Linked DNA regions of Homo sapiens: region 1 is linked to region 2. The links are contacts of gene promoters, found by promoter capture Hi-C in blood cells and fetal thymus (Javierre and others, 2016). All regions are on one chromosome and are shown on one strand. The core of a region is centred on a gene start or on the middle of the fragment in contact, and the rest is flanking DNA. Distances in the headings are between cores, read along the strand shown.

Region 1 (6,818 bases), core at 2,052-4,551, 3.5 Mb after region 2:
GCACTGGGGGTGGGGTCAGGGGATGAGGTAGTGCTACTGGCATCTAGTAGGTACAGGCCAGAGATACTGCTAAACATCCTATAACACAAAGAATAGCTCCCCACACTTATCCGACCCCAAACACCAATAATGCCAGAGATGGGAAACCCTAGTCTAGTGAGAAGTGAAGAGGGTCACAGCTAAAGCTGTTAGAACAAAGAGGGGACTATTTAGAACAGATCACGAGGGACTCAAGGACTTATGGATGTGGGAATGAGGTCAAGGACAATTCTGAGGTTTCAAGTTGAGTGAACAGATAAGCAGTGATGGCAATAAGCAGTGCTGCAAAGATAAGAAGACAAGCAGGCTGAGAAAATGGTAGAAATATCAATTTTGAATGTACTAAATTTTAAAATCTCAGTGGAACAAAGGATTCTCACCTGGTCTAAAAATAAAAATAAAAAAAAAATAAAAAAAATCCTTACCTGGGTTTTTCTGGCTGAAATTTTTATAAACTTCAAAATTTCCATTAACCTTCCCACCCCCACCCTTAATCCAATTCCCCAGTCAGCCTAAAAATCCTCTGGCTGAGTCTGAAGTGAATTTTGTGGAATTTAGAGGAAGGCAGAAAACCCACCTGAGAGTGTGGCCAGGGTTCGTTCAGCTGTTCCTCGAAGGGTCTCCCCAGGCTGCCACTCTGCCTGGGGCAGTATCCAAACATCCTGGTCTCCAAACTTCTCTCTGACTAACAGGACAAGGTTCCTGTCTAGCTTCCTGTTCAGGGATGTTCGGTCATTCTTTTCATCAGCTTCTACAGCAAAGGGGGTCAGAGGAGGTAAGAAGACTGTGATCTGCCAGAACCAAGAAACCTGGAGTTTTACAATCTTCCTTTAAGATCCACAATCCTTGCCCTCAAAGAGCTTAGAACCAAATTACACCTCGACCCATCTCTCTAACTCTGACCTCTTCCAGGGAAGAGTCTCACAATCTTGAGGAAACTAAAAGGTAAGAAATCAAGAGGTAAGCTTCTTTGAACAGCAAACCATATTTTGAGTCTTCAAAAAAGAAACAATGATCATACTAATTCAAACACAACTACTTCATTGGTTTTGATACTATTACTGACTTAACTAGCCCCTACTTTCTCTGTTCTTCAGTCTTCATCTGTGAAACAAGGAAAACAGAACTCAATCTCCCGCTTTAAGAGGGATTTCACATAAAACACAGGAATTAGTGGAAAAAGGCTTCATTTGCCCCACTCTCAGTCTCAAACTTGGAGTTAAACACAGATAACATTCACAAAGTTTAACTGAGAGAAAAGGCTATTCCAATACCCTTACCTCTCACCCGAAAATAAGACAGACTTTTTAAGTCGTATTATGGTAGATGTGAGCAACAAAGAAAAGAATATGAAATTATTTGTTACTTAAAACACAAAGCAGGGGCCAAGCAACTGTCTTTTATTTGGGAATCCAAATACCCCTTTTCCCTTCCTTCTGGCTGGCCTAAAAGGATCACAACCTGTTATGCGAGCTCCAAGTTTGAACTGTAGAAATTTCTGCTCCCACATATCTTCCAAATCTTGCGCCAGCAATATATCCTGTTCATCTTCTTCATCATGAAGGTCAGCTTTCTTCTTTGCCAGTCGCTGGTTTTCATCCAGAGCACGAAGCTCGTGGTCTGAATACAGGCTTCTCTCTATCTCAATCTGGGAAAATTCAAAGGGCAAAAAACTACCTTAATCTGGCAAAATTAAAAGGAAAAAAAAAACAGGAAGAATAAAACAGAGACATGGCACACTTGGCAAGCTCAGAAGTTTATCACCCAACATAACCAGATACACAGTCAAAACACCATGCAGAAAGGAAATGGAGGGAAAAAAAGGTCCTCTGAACTTTGGGCTTGAGTTACATTTGCCAAAAATGTTACAATGTCACTGGGGGTCAAGAGTGCTACAAAAACAGAGAGCTGGGTTGGGCAATGCCTGCTGACTCACCACAATCCAGTCATGTCAGTCTTTGATCAGAATCTCACTCACCAAGGACTTTCCTGTTCAGGGACTTTCAAGAGGTTGTTCCTTCTTCCTAGAATGTTTTTCCTCACATTCTTTCTTCTGGGAGAGTCCTACTCATCTTTCTGATTTCAATTTAAATATGACTGTCTCAGAGAGACATTTCTCATAAAGAGAAAAACCTGTATTCAGAAAGTCTGAGGCATTCCTTGACACTCACCATAAAATCAAAATGTGATGTATTTGTTAAACACTCTTATAGTGCCTTGTGTTTTCCTTAACAACACTTATCAGGGTCTGCATTTAGTTGTATGATTATTTGGTTACTGACTGATCCCCTCACTCAACTAGACTGAAGTACTCTGAGAACCAGAGCTACTTCTGCCTTATTCATTACAGCATCTCTATCACTTAACATACTCTCTGATGCATAGTATGGGCACAATGAACATCTGTAGGTTGAGTAACAAATATTTGTCAAGCGAGCGAGTAAATGAATAAATCAAGCAAAAAGCACAGAAGAGAAGTTTATAGTTCTCAACAGACCAAGACAAAAACATCTCGGATTCTGAGGAAACATATCACCCTTCAAACACTTTCTGTAGCGACCTCACACCTTCACAGCCACTACACTGTTTTTGCCCATGCTTCCTCACTTGCCCCTCACACAGATAGCCCCATGAGATAAAACAGAGTAGGCTTATCATAGGCATCTGACAGATGTGCCCACCGCCTCTTGTATTTCCTTCTTAACATTCATCACATCACAAAGACTTTCTCCCTCCAGACTTGTAAGCTCCTAGTGACACGGACCGATTCTTGTTCACCACAGGATCCCTATTGTGTTGCATGAACAAGAAGTAGAGTATCTCCAAAGAGTTGTCTAAGGTGACAATAAACACGGCCAATGAAAAGAAACCACTTTTTGTTGAACATCTATGTACCAAACCAAGTCAGTAAGGTAGGTACCATTCTGCGGATAAGTACCGTATACTTAAGTTCAGAGAGGTGAAATTACTCGCTCAAAGTCACGCAGAATAAACGTCACTCTGAACCCTGCATCTCAGTCCCACCTGCTGCAGTAGAGACGCCATCTCTTCCTGCAATGGGGTCAACGGCTTGGAGACTACAGGTGGCCGCTGCAGGCACAACGCGCCCAACAAGCGCCATGGGGATCCGTTGCTTGAGGGTGCGGCTGCAAGAGCCAGGCTGCGAGAGCTTAGACTGCCGGCCCAGAGCCTCTCGAACCGCCGCCAACCCCCCGCCACCCCTAACAGCGTCCGCCTTACGGGCGCCGCCATCTTTCGTTCTCCCACAATGCACCGCGGCTCCCAGGGATCCCTCAGCCGCGGGAGCGGCAAACTAGGGGAAAGCTCAGTCCCGGAACTGCTAGAACGAACCATTCGCATATGGAGGGGGTGACCCACCATCTCAGAACATTAAAAAAGGGAAAGAATCCCCTGGTGAACTACAGTGAAAGTCTTATTGAGCATTTAAATGGAAATAAAAATATTCAGTGGACCTAATGAAGAGTAGATGACTTTCCCTTCTGTCCCCTCCCCGACAGGCACTCATGGTACCGGCGCCGGCGCAGCTGTGACTGTCGCTGCAGACGGAAACTGACTGGGGTCAATTCAAGTCATGCAGGCTGTGAGAAACGCGGGGTCGCGGTTCCTGCGGTCCTGGACTTGGCCCCAGACAGCCGGGTAACAAATGACTGCCCCCTCGAGCCCACCGCCACCTCCAGGACTATGCTCCTACTCGTGTCCCTTGAGCCACCCGGGCCCCAGTGACCGTTAGGCCGTGGCCCTCACCGAGCTTTTCTTCCCAGCAGGGTCGTGGCCAGAACGCCGGCCGGGACCATCTGCACAGGCGCTCGACAGCTCCAAGACGCTGCGGCCAAGCAGAAAGTTGAACAGAACGCGGCTCCCAGCCACACCAAGTTCAGGTGAGCCCCACTTGGACCAGCCCTCTGGAGACCCGCAACCCCTGACTCTTGCCCGACACCCTCCAGAGTCAGAACCAGTGAATTTTCAGCTATGTCACTTGCTATCCGTGGGACCTTATGCAAATAAATCTGAGCCTCAGCCTTCTCATCTAAAAATGCGGATAATGCTGAGAGAGGTTGTGAGAATCAGATGAGCCGTGGTACAGAGTAAATGTTCAGTGAACATTCGTTAAATCAATGAGTGAATGTGAGATATCCATAACATGTATCAGCGTTCTTTTCTTCTGAGATGGAGATCTTTTCAGACCAATAACCTTCCCTGCCTCCAAAACAAAATGGGGAGGTAGAGGGCGCTAGCGATGGAACAGATGTTCCTGCACGTCTTACGGATGGTCCAGGGTGGGTTTTGTGCTCAGCCCTAGGAACTGGCATCTTGCTTCCCACCAGTGCCACCACCTCTGTATGCTGTATACACATCCACTTAACTTCACATCCATTTAACAAACATTTACCAAGAATCTACTATGAGTGAGACACCATGCTAGGTGCCGTGAATACAGATACAAAAGATCATTCCTCCCCACAAGTAGTTCACAGTCTTTGAGGGAAGACAAACATGCAAACATTTTAACCATAATCTGCTCAATAATATAATGGAGGTAAGCATTGGTTGGAAGTATGAAATCATAAGTGTCTAACTCCTGGCCGGGTGCAGTAGCTCATGCCTTTAATCCCAGCACTTTAGGCGGCCAAGGTGGGCGAATTACTTGAGGTCAGGAGATCGAGACCAGCCTGGCCAACATGGCGAAACCCCGTCTCCACTAAAAGCACAAAAACTAGCCAGGCGTGATGTCTGGCACCTGTAATCCCAGCCACTCAGGAGGCTGAAGTAGAAGAATCGCATGAACCCAGGGAGCGGAGGTTGCAGTGAGCCAAGATCACGCCACTGTACTCCAGCCTGGGTGACAGATTGAGACTCTGTCTCAAAGAAAAAAAAAAAAAAAAAGAATAAGTGTCTCATTCCTGAGGAAATCAGGCAAGACCATGGAGAAAAGAACATGGAGCTCAGAAGTGAATGGGAGTTCATCTGGACAAGTTGAAGTGGGTCATTGGAGACAAAGGTAACCATCTGTGTAAAGGCATGTGGTATGAAAAAACATGGTGTGTTCAGGTGTGTATGTGATGGCAGATGAGGCCAACAAGACAAGAAGGCATCAGAATGCCAGGGGTCTTGTCTGTCACACTGGAGCTTTTACGCTGTCCCCACTGAAGGCAGTGAGGAGCTGCTGAAAGCATCTAAACCAAGATTCTGTTGTAGTCATTTCTTCAACAATGCCAGGCACTGTTCAGAGTGTTGGGGATATATCCCTGACCAAACAGACAAAAAGCCCTGCCCTCATAGAACTTAAATTCCAGTGGGTAGAAGACAGTAAATAGAAAACAAGTAAAATGTAGGAGTATAACGGTTGGAAAGGGGAAGTGGGGGTCAAGCAGGCCTGCATAGCCACATTCTGTAGGACTTTGTAGGCCGTTGTGAGGACTTCAGCTTTTACTGTGAATGAAATGGGAGGCCAATGGAAATTGCTGAATAAAGGGTTGACATGATCTTGCTGACAAGATCTTGTAAGCTCTTTGGCTGCTGTGTTGATATTAAACCATTGGAGAGCAAGAATGGAAGCTGGGAAAAGTCCTCTAAGCAGTTAGAAGACTATTGAAATAATCCAGACAAGAAACAATGGTGGCTTGGACCATGGTTATTGCCATGGAGGTATTATGAATGGTCTGACATATTTTGAAGGTAGAACAAGCAGGATTTGTTAATATACAGTGTGAGAAAAAGGAGCGAAGGAAGACCCCAAATTTTGTTGGCCTAAACAACTGGAAAGACGGAGTTGTCATTGATTAAGATGGGGAAGACTGCAGGAGTTTGGATGGGAGTTGTTAAGGTTGAGATTCTTAATAAACATTCAAGTGGAGACACAATGTAGACCATTAGAAATGGAGCTCAAGGGCCGGGCGCGGTGGCTCACACCTGTAATCCCAGCACTTTGGGAGGCCGAGGCAGGCGGATCACCGGGTCAGGCATTTTAGACCAACCTGACCAACATGGTGAAACCCCGTCTCTACTAAAAATACAAAAATTAGCCAGGTGTGGTGGCGTGGGTCTATAATCCCAGCTACCCAGGACGCTGAGGCAGGAGAATCACTTGAACCCCGGAGACGGAGGTTGCAGTGAGCCAAGATCGTGCCACTGCAGTCCAGCCTGGACGAGACTCCATCTCAAAAAAACAAACAAGCAAAAAAAGAAATGGAGTTCAAGAGTCAGACTTCAGACTTTAGCTAGAGATATACAGTTGGGAGACATCATAGAGATGATATTTAAAACCATGAGATGACAAAATCATTAATACCATAAATGTAGATGAAGAGAAGAGGTCCAAGGACTGAACCCTGGGGCGCTTTCACATTTAGAGATTTGGGAGACTAGGAAGAACCATCAGAAGAGACAAGGAACTTCCAGAGAGGTAATAGGAAAACCAGGAGAGAACATTTGTTTTTTAATTTGGCTCAAGGTGGGGAGATCAGCTGTGTCAAATGCTGCTGATGTGATAGGTTGCTAGATCAATAACAGAATTGCCTATTATATTTAGTAATGTGGAGTTAGTTGGATTAAAGCATTTTTGGTGGAGTGGTAGAGGCTAATATCTGATTGAAATGGGTTCAAGGAGAATAGAAGCAGAGGATAGGAAGAAACAGCAAGTATAGTCAGTACCTTAAAGTTCCTTAAGAGGGCTCTGCTATAAGGGAATAGAGAAATGGACAATAGCTCCCAGGAGGTGGGTTCAAGAGGTTTTCGAGGGTTGTTCTGTTATTTTTTCA
Region 2 (6,952 bases), core at 1-2,500:
CAGCCCGCTACAGGATACGTGATGGACGCCCAGAGACACCGCCCTCCAGCTGGTGGGGGAGGAGCCCCAGCCACCAAGAAGTTAAGTGACTGGCCCAGTTCACACAGCAAGCTAGTGGCTGTGTGCGTGTCCGGGGTCCTCATGGGCCCCAGGCCTGCAATGCGTACGCCCCTTCCCCTGGCTCTGCCTTTGGGGTCTCGGACGCCCGACTAGCACTTTGGTTAAAATGAGAGGAGGACGGGCGCCTGCAGCCTGCCCGGTGCTGTAGCTTTGCGGCCGCCCCGGCGCCTGTGTAATCCGAGGCGTGGCGCGCCAGGTTTTGGCCTGCGAGGGAGCGCACGTGGGCTGCGGCTTCTCGCGGACGCCCAGGCCCCACCCACCCGGGACCCGGCGCGCGGCGCCCCAGTTTGACTTTCACTACCCCCAAAGGAGGTCTTTCCACCGGCCTCTTTTCTGGGTAACAGCTCCAGGGCTCACACTTGGTGACCCCACCGAGGTCAAGTAGCCGCTAAGTTACGGAGCCGGAATTCGAATTTGGCGGTCGGGCTTCTGGTGGCCTCGGGACGGAGGTGGCTGTGTGTCCCTGGGCAAGTCTCTTTCCTTCTCTGGGTAGCCCAGTCGGGCGCCCCGCCTGTCGTCGCCGCGCATGCTCAGTTGCGGGCGGCGTCCGGAGGAGGTGGCGGGCGCCCCAGCTGCTTTGCATTGACGCCAGCACCCGCTGGAGGTCACCGCTGGGGGCTCGGCGCGGCACGCTGCCGGCAAAACCCGGCCCGGATCACGGAGCCGGAGCCGGAGCCGTACCGCCAGCAACTCCTGGGTGCGCGCAGCCGTTTCTGCGCTTCTCGACGGTGCGGCCCCAGGCCCCGCTGGAGCCGAGCTGCTCCCCTCCCTACCCTGGCGGACGTGGCCCGGCCGCTCCGAGGGGTTTCCCTCGGACCCCGCGCCTAAACCCCGGCCAGCGGGAGCGTCTAAGGCTAGCCTTGTACCCCACCGGCACTCGGCCTGGGGGGGCTTTTCCGCGAGGCGGCGGCCCAGCGGGCGGAGCGGCGTGGGTGTCCACATCTAGGCGGAGTCTGGAGCCGGGGAGGCGGCGGCGGCGGCGGCGGGAGCGGGGCCGGGCGCGGCCGGGAGCTCGCCTCCCCCGGGGGTCGTGCCGCAGCTCGGCGAGGGCAGCGTGGCTCGCGCGGCGTGGACTCAGCCGCTCCTGGGTAAGGAGAGCGCAAATCTCCTCCCCCTATTTCCCCGGAAGCGCGGCCGAGGCGAGCCCGGCGATGTGAGAGGCGGCCGTCGGCTCCTGCCTCAGGAAGGGCATGTTCGGAGGGGCGGCCTCGGCACGCCACCCGCCTAAGCGCCCCCTTCCCACCGCAGCCGCCGCCGCCGCAGCGCCCGCACCGCGATAAAAGGGGCGGCCGCGTTTCCTGACGCGAGATCCGCGCTCGCCGCCGCCCGCCCAGGCGGCGATGACACGGCGCCCGCGGCGGCCCGGAGGCGCCGGGTGGGCCGTTTGCTGACCGGATCGCGGCTACCCGCCAGCGTGTCCGCGGCGCCGCCGCCAGCATGGGCTGTGCCCCGAGCATCCACATTTCCGAGCGCCTGGTGGCCGAGGACGCGCCTAGCCCCGCGGCACCGCCGCTGTCGTCCGGCGGGCCGCGCCTCCCGCAGGGCCAGAAGACGGCCGCCTTGCCCCGGACCCGCGGCGCCGGCCTCTTGGAGTCGGAGCTTCGCGACGGCAGCGGCAAGAAGGTAAGGGGCGCCGGGCACTCTGGGGCCGCCGCGAAACTCGGGCCCGGCCAGTAAGCAACTTTCCCGCAGGGGCCGGGCGGGGTCCCCCCCACCCGGCCTCGGTGCCCTCTTGTCCCGCTTTGGATGGTTCTGATTGACGCCAGTCTCCCGCCTTGCCGGGGCAGCGTTCAGAGAAGGACCGACCCAGGTCCCGCGACCCTGATTTCCTAGGGTTGCGATTAGGACGCCGCCTGTGTCGCGGCGTCGGTTTTTTGGACACATCCGACTCCCGGAGCGGCGGGGCCCGATGTGAAGTTGACTGAGGCGCTTGCATCAATTTCCTCTCCAAGAGCGGGTGTTTGAGGGAAACCCCCAGGATATTCTGGCGCGCCCCTGCAATGTTAAATCAGTGTGAACTTTGTTCTTTTCCTGTGGTAGAAAGGGAAGGGCGACTGGCCTCACCACTCTTTTCCCTCTGTCAGCTTTGCACATGCAGTTGCAGGTTACCATTTTCTTCGGGACTGCTAGAATGTAATCTGGAACATCAGCTTTGCTTCATTGCACATGTATTTGAGGTCCACGTTTATTAGCATACATACTGTATTTAAAGCATATGTAATTAGAAAATACTGTGAAACGCGATTTTTGAAGCATTCAGCAGAACAAAGTTAATCTTTTATTAAGCCGACTTACTGGGACATTTTGTGACTGGGGTTTTTTGTTTTTTTACATTGCGTGTCTTCTCCAGCGCATGTTGCCTTGGCTTATGTTTTGTCAAAGTTTCTGGGCTTAGTCTTTGTTGAGGTTTTCTAAAGGAAAGTTAAAAAGGAAAAAGAAAAACGTGATCATTAAGGCACACAGCAGCAGCTTTCCAGTTCTCTCATTTCAGAATTTAAAGCTGGAACTCATGCGTTGGTTTATGTTTTGTTAAACCAGTAAAAGACAACAACAACAAAATTCGTGCATGGCTGCAGATTGTTGGCTGTCATCCCTCTCATCACGACCAGTTTTTGAAAGAGTAATTTGCAAAATTTGTTTGATTTTTCCTTGCTTGCTGAGAACTGCTGAACCTCCGAAGTTTGAGGGATATAGTTTGATGTACTTTCTGTCTTACATTTCTAGCAGTCGTCATGATACTTTTTCTGTACGAAAGGGGAAAGTCTTTTTCAGTGTTGCATAACAGTTGATTTCCCCACCATTCCCATACCCTAAGTGAAAATTCAACTTTGTTCTGATTATCAGAAATTGAATTCCTTCTCCTATAGATTCTTTAAAGAAACCTCTGATGGTTTAGGCTTACTAACTCAAGGTGCTCTTAATATCAGTGTTAAGCTGTGTGTTAAGCCTACTTGGCTTTAAAAAAGTGTTACACAGGTGCATATGGAAACTTTAACAGCTTTCAAGTTTTCAGTCCAAATCTAACATTTTGCAGACTAATGTGATAATTTCAGATTACCAAAGTAGCCCTTTTATAGTGAGGGGCCTTTGTGTCTTACAGGCTTTTTTTGTGGTGGATTGGGTGTCCTAAAATTCACCTAGGTGTCTTGTAAGCCTCCCCAGTGCAGCAGCAGCTTGCTCTTGTGCTATCGCAGTGCCGTTAGGTCCCTGAGTTTTTAAGTACTTACTTCAACCATTCTTCTGTATTGGCAGACCATTGTCTTGTGTTGGGGGCTCAGAAAATACTTTCATCCTTAAAGTGCCTAACCCAGTGGCATACACATAGTAGGTACTAAATAAATGTTTACTGATTTCTTAAAAAATTGTTAACTGATTGATGAAACTTTTTCAGTCATTGGAATTTGATTTCATAAAGCCTCCTATGTAGACTTCAAAATAATAGTATTTCCAGAGCAGGAGTCAAATTATAAATTATAACACCACAACCACAGAAATAATAGCCCCATACTTGTTATTCATGAACTGTACATGTTGATATCTCATTTACAGTTATTTGCATTTAGGCATGTCAGATAGTAGAGCAGAGGTAAATGTCAGCATTTTTTCTAGTCTAATATTTTTTCTTTGAAAATGAATCTTTTTAAATTTTAAGATATTAACTATGCTCTGGAAATTCATGTTAGAGAAGGCAAACTGCTAGCAATTTAGCAAAATTAAATCATAAAATTAGTTTCTTTGTATTATCTCAAGATGCAATTTAATTCATTACAAAATTTCTTATTAAAACTGTAAGTCAGCATATCTTTAAGTGAATTTCAACAAGAAATTCATTGGGGGATGCTTTTATAGTCCTACAGCATTTAGTAAATACCAGTTTATCAGTGTGGGTGGGAGATTGATAACTAATTGCATTTTTAGGTTAAGCAGTATGTACTTTGCGTTAAAGTGTATCCTGCATGTGTTCTATGGAACAATATGTGGACTGTTAGTATTGTATGAGAAAAGAGTTCCGTGGTCTGGTAAGTTTTTGGGAAATACAGGTTGAATATCCCTAATCAGAAAATGAGAAATGTTCCAAAGTCTGTTTTGAGTGCTGACATGATGCTCAAAGGAAGTGCTCAATGGAGCATTTCAGAGTTTGGATTTTCAGATTAGGGATGCTGAACTGGTAAATATAATGCAGATATTCCAAAAGCCAAAAAAAAAAAATCCAAAACACTTCTGGTCTCAAGCATTTGGGATAAGAGATATGCGGCCTATACTGGCTCAGACTAAGTTCAACAGAGTTCTTTTATGTAGGGCTTGTCAGAGAACCTAATTTCTGAAAGTAATCTGTGAGTCTCCAAGTGGTTTTTAGAGTGTGCATCATTTCCTAAACTAGTTGATTGTGGAGCCCTTTTCTTGAGGTGTATGTCAGGCAGGCCACATGTTAAGACCTGATTCTTTATGTGAGATACCAATATTCAAAGTACAAGAAATATAATTAACAGTAAAACTCAACGAATGTAATTTGCTTCTTAATGATTCCAAAGGTACTTTAGATCTTGCAATATATTAGGCTGGGTTGTCTGTATGAACTTATTTAAGTATTACTAAAAATACCCTCTGTCTGTTTATTCCTTTCGGGAGTTTAAGTTTATGTGGTTACAGATAATGAATGCTGTGTTCAGTTTGAACACTTAGAGTTTTGTTTATTTTTAATCAGTGTGAGTGAGCCTTAACTGTAACATTTTAATATTTTCTTGCCAGTCTTTGGATTTACCCCATTTCCACTTTCCCTAGCCAGGACTTGAGTTGCCCTTGAAAGATTTGCATGTAGTGTTAGAGACCCTATGCTCACCCCCTATCTTCCTTTTTGCAAACACCCACTGCACTGCTAATGATTGATGCTCCCCACACCCCAACTAATCAACTCTGTGAGATGGCAGTCATGTTTGTTTTGTTCACTGCTGTATCCCCCAGGCCTGATGCACAGTAGGCCTTCCGTAAACGTATGTTGAATTAGAGAATTTTGTGAACCAGGCTGTCAAGTTGAAAATCCACCCAGGCCAGGTAAGTAGAAATAGAAGCCAGTTTTAACCAGAGTAGAGGCTGTAAAGTTTGGATTTGGTTTTGTGGAAATCTCTGGTTATTGCTCTTCAGAGCACTGTACCCAGGGAATAATATATTTCTACCCTGTTGAGCAGAGTAGATTTCCCTGTAAAGAAAGATTAAAGAGGCTGGGCGCGGTGGCTCATGTCTATAGTCCCAGCACTTTGGGAGGCCAAGGCAGAAGGATTGCTAGAGCCCAGGAGTTTGAGACCAGCCTGGACAACATCTCAAGACTCTGTCTCTACCAAAAAATAAAAAAAATTAGCTGGGCATGGCACCGCACACCTTTAGTCCCAGATACTTGGGAGGCTGAGGTGGGAGGATCACCTGAGGTAAGAAGTTCAAGGTTGCTGTGAGCCGAGAGTGCGTCCCTGCACTCCAGCCTGGGCAACAGACAGAAACCCTATCTCAAAAATAAATAATAAATAAAAGATGTAAGGATTAGTGCAGCTAAGGTGATAGATAATAGTACAGCTGCAAGCCAACCTCTAATCGAGTGTTACTGCTGTCAGCACTCACTTAAAATCTCAGACATTCTCTAGTTGGTCCATTTCTGTTTCCCTTTGCTTCTGTCATTCACTTCCTTCAACCTCTTTTCTCTTACTTTGCATCACCTCCCGTCCCACTTCCATCTTCCTCCTTGCTTTTTTCTGCTAGCCCACCTTCCTGCACAAAACTGGCCACTCTTGCCATCTTAGTCAACTAAAGTTTAGTGGTTTCCAAATGTTACTTAAGTAACATTTGGAATGGAATAAAATTTATTGCCTGCTCCTAGTTTACAAAGTGGATTAGTCAAAACTTTTTTTTTTTTTTTAAGACAGCGTCTTGCTTTGTTACCCAGGCTGGAGTGCAGTGGCACAACCATGGCTCACTCAGCCTTGACCTCCTGGGCTCAAGTGATCCCCCCACCTCAGCCTCCCAAGTAACTGGGACTACAGGTGCGCACCATGCATGGCCAGTTTTTTAAACTTTTTTTTTGTCGAGACGAGATCTTGCTGTGCTGCCCAGGCTAGGCTCAAACTCCTGGGCTCCTGTGATTCCCCCAGCCTCAGCCTACCAAAGTGCTGGGATTACAGGTGTGGGTTACTGTGCCCAACTGATTACTCAAAATTTTACATTTGGCTAAACTAAAGCAATTTTCTCTTTGTGTGTGACCTGACTGATTTTTTTCCTCCAGTAGGGGTCTTTGACCCTTGCTAGATTATATGGAATTACTGAAAGTTTCCTTTGAAAGTGTAGTTGAGAAAAATGAGACCAAACTTTCTGCTGCCATAGTAAGTGACTACAGTTTATCTCTAGAGCTCAGGGGTTGTGAGTTCCCTCATTGTGTTCTTGTGCTTTTCAGTATATAGAAAGATATTTCTTTATTCATTTTCTTGAATTCCTTTTACATACATAAAATACTTTGCATTTATAGCATATGTTTTTTAGTACTTACTGTCATTGCCACCATAACTTTAAGTGTGATTCTTAAGATAGACATTGTCACAATTCTGTTACCTGAAACCTGTCCCTGACCAGCTTTGACCCTCGCCTTGCTGAGGTAAGGTTTATGATAGGGCCTGTGGTCCCTTCTGGCGCAAATGTTTCCTGTGAAGTGGCTTATGACTGGTTTTCCCTTGGATAGCTTACCCATTTGGATTGGTTCCTTTTTTTTTTTTTTTTTTTTTTAAAGACAGTTTTTTGCTCTTGTTGCCCAGGCTGGAGTGTAATGGTGCGATCTCAGCTTACCACAACCTCC

The links. Contacts are between HindIII fragments. The CHiCAGO score rates a contact against its expected background, and 5 or more counts as called.
Region 1: a contact is called between the fragment with the promoter of MRPL46 here and the fragment with the promoter of PDE8A in region 2, in 1 of 17 cell types (monocytes). The highest score is 5.7, in monocytes.

Annotation. Positions count from the first base shown.
Region 1 is chr15:88,464,087-88,470,904 of GRCh38, forward strand. It overlaps MRPL46 (mitochondrial ribosomal protein L46), which reads right to left and starts at 3,302. Exons shown (of 4, transcript NM_022163.4): 1 at 3,064-3,302; 2 at 1,501-1,687; 3 at 617-790. The coding sequence starts at 3,291. MRPS11 (mitochondrial ribosomal protein S11) reads left to right here and starts at 3,622. Exons shown (of 6, transcript NM_022839.5): 1 at 3,622-3,696; 2 at 3,822-3,938. The coding sequence starts at 3,632. RefSeq lists enhancers at 1,637-2,836, 3,303-3,472. The HindIII fragment of the contact is 6,788 bases long and covers 1,003-6,818 here.
Region 2 is chr15:84,980,606-84,987,557 of GRCh38, forward strand. It overlaps PDE8A (phosphodiesterase 8A), which reads left to right and starts at 1,251. Exons shown (of 22, transcript NM_002605.3): 1 at 1,251-1,743. The coding sequence starts at 1,558. RefSeq lists silencers at 313-362, 683-1,172 and an enhancer at 900-1,432. The HindIII fragment of the contact is 13,609 bases long and covers 1-6,952 here.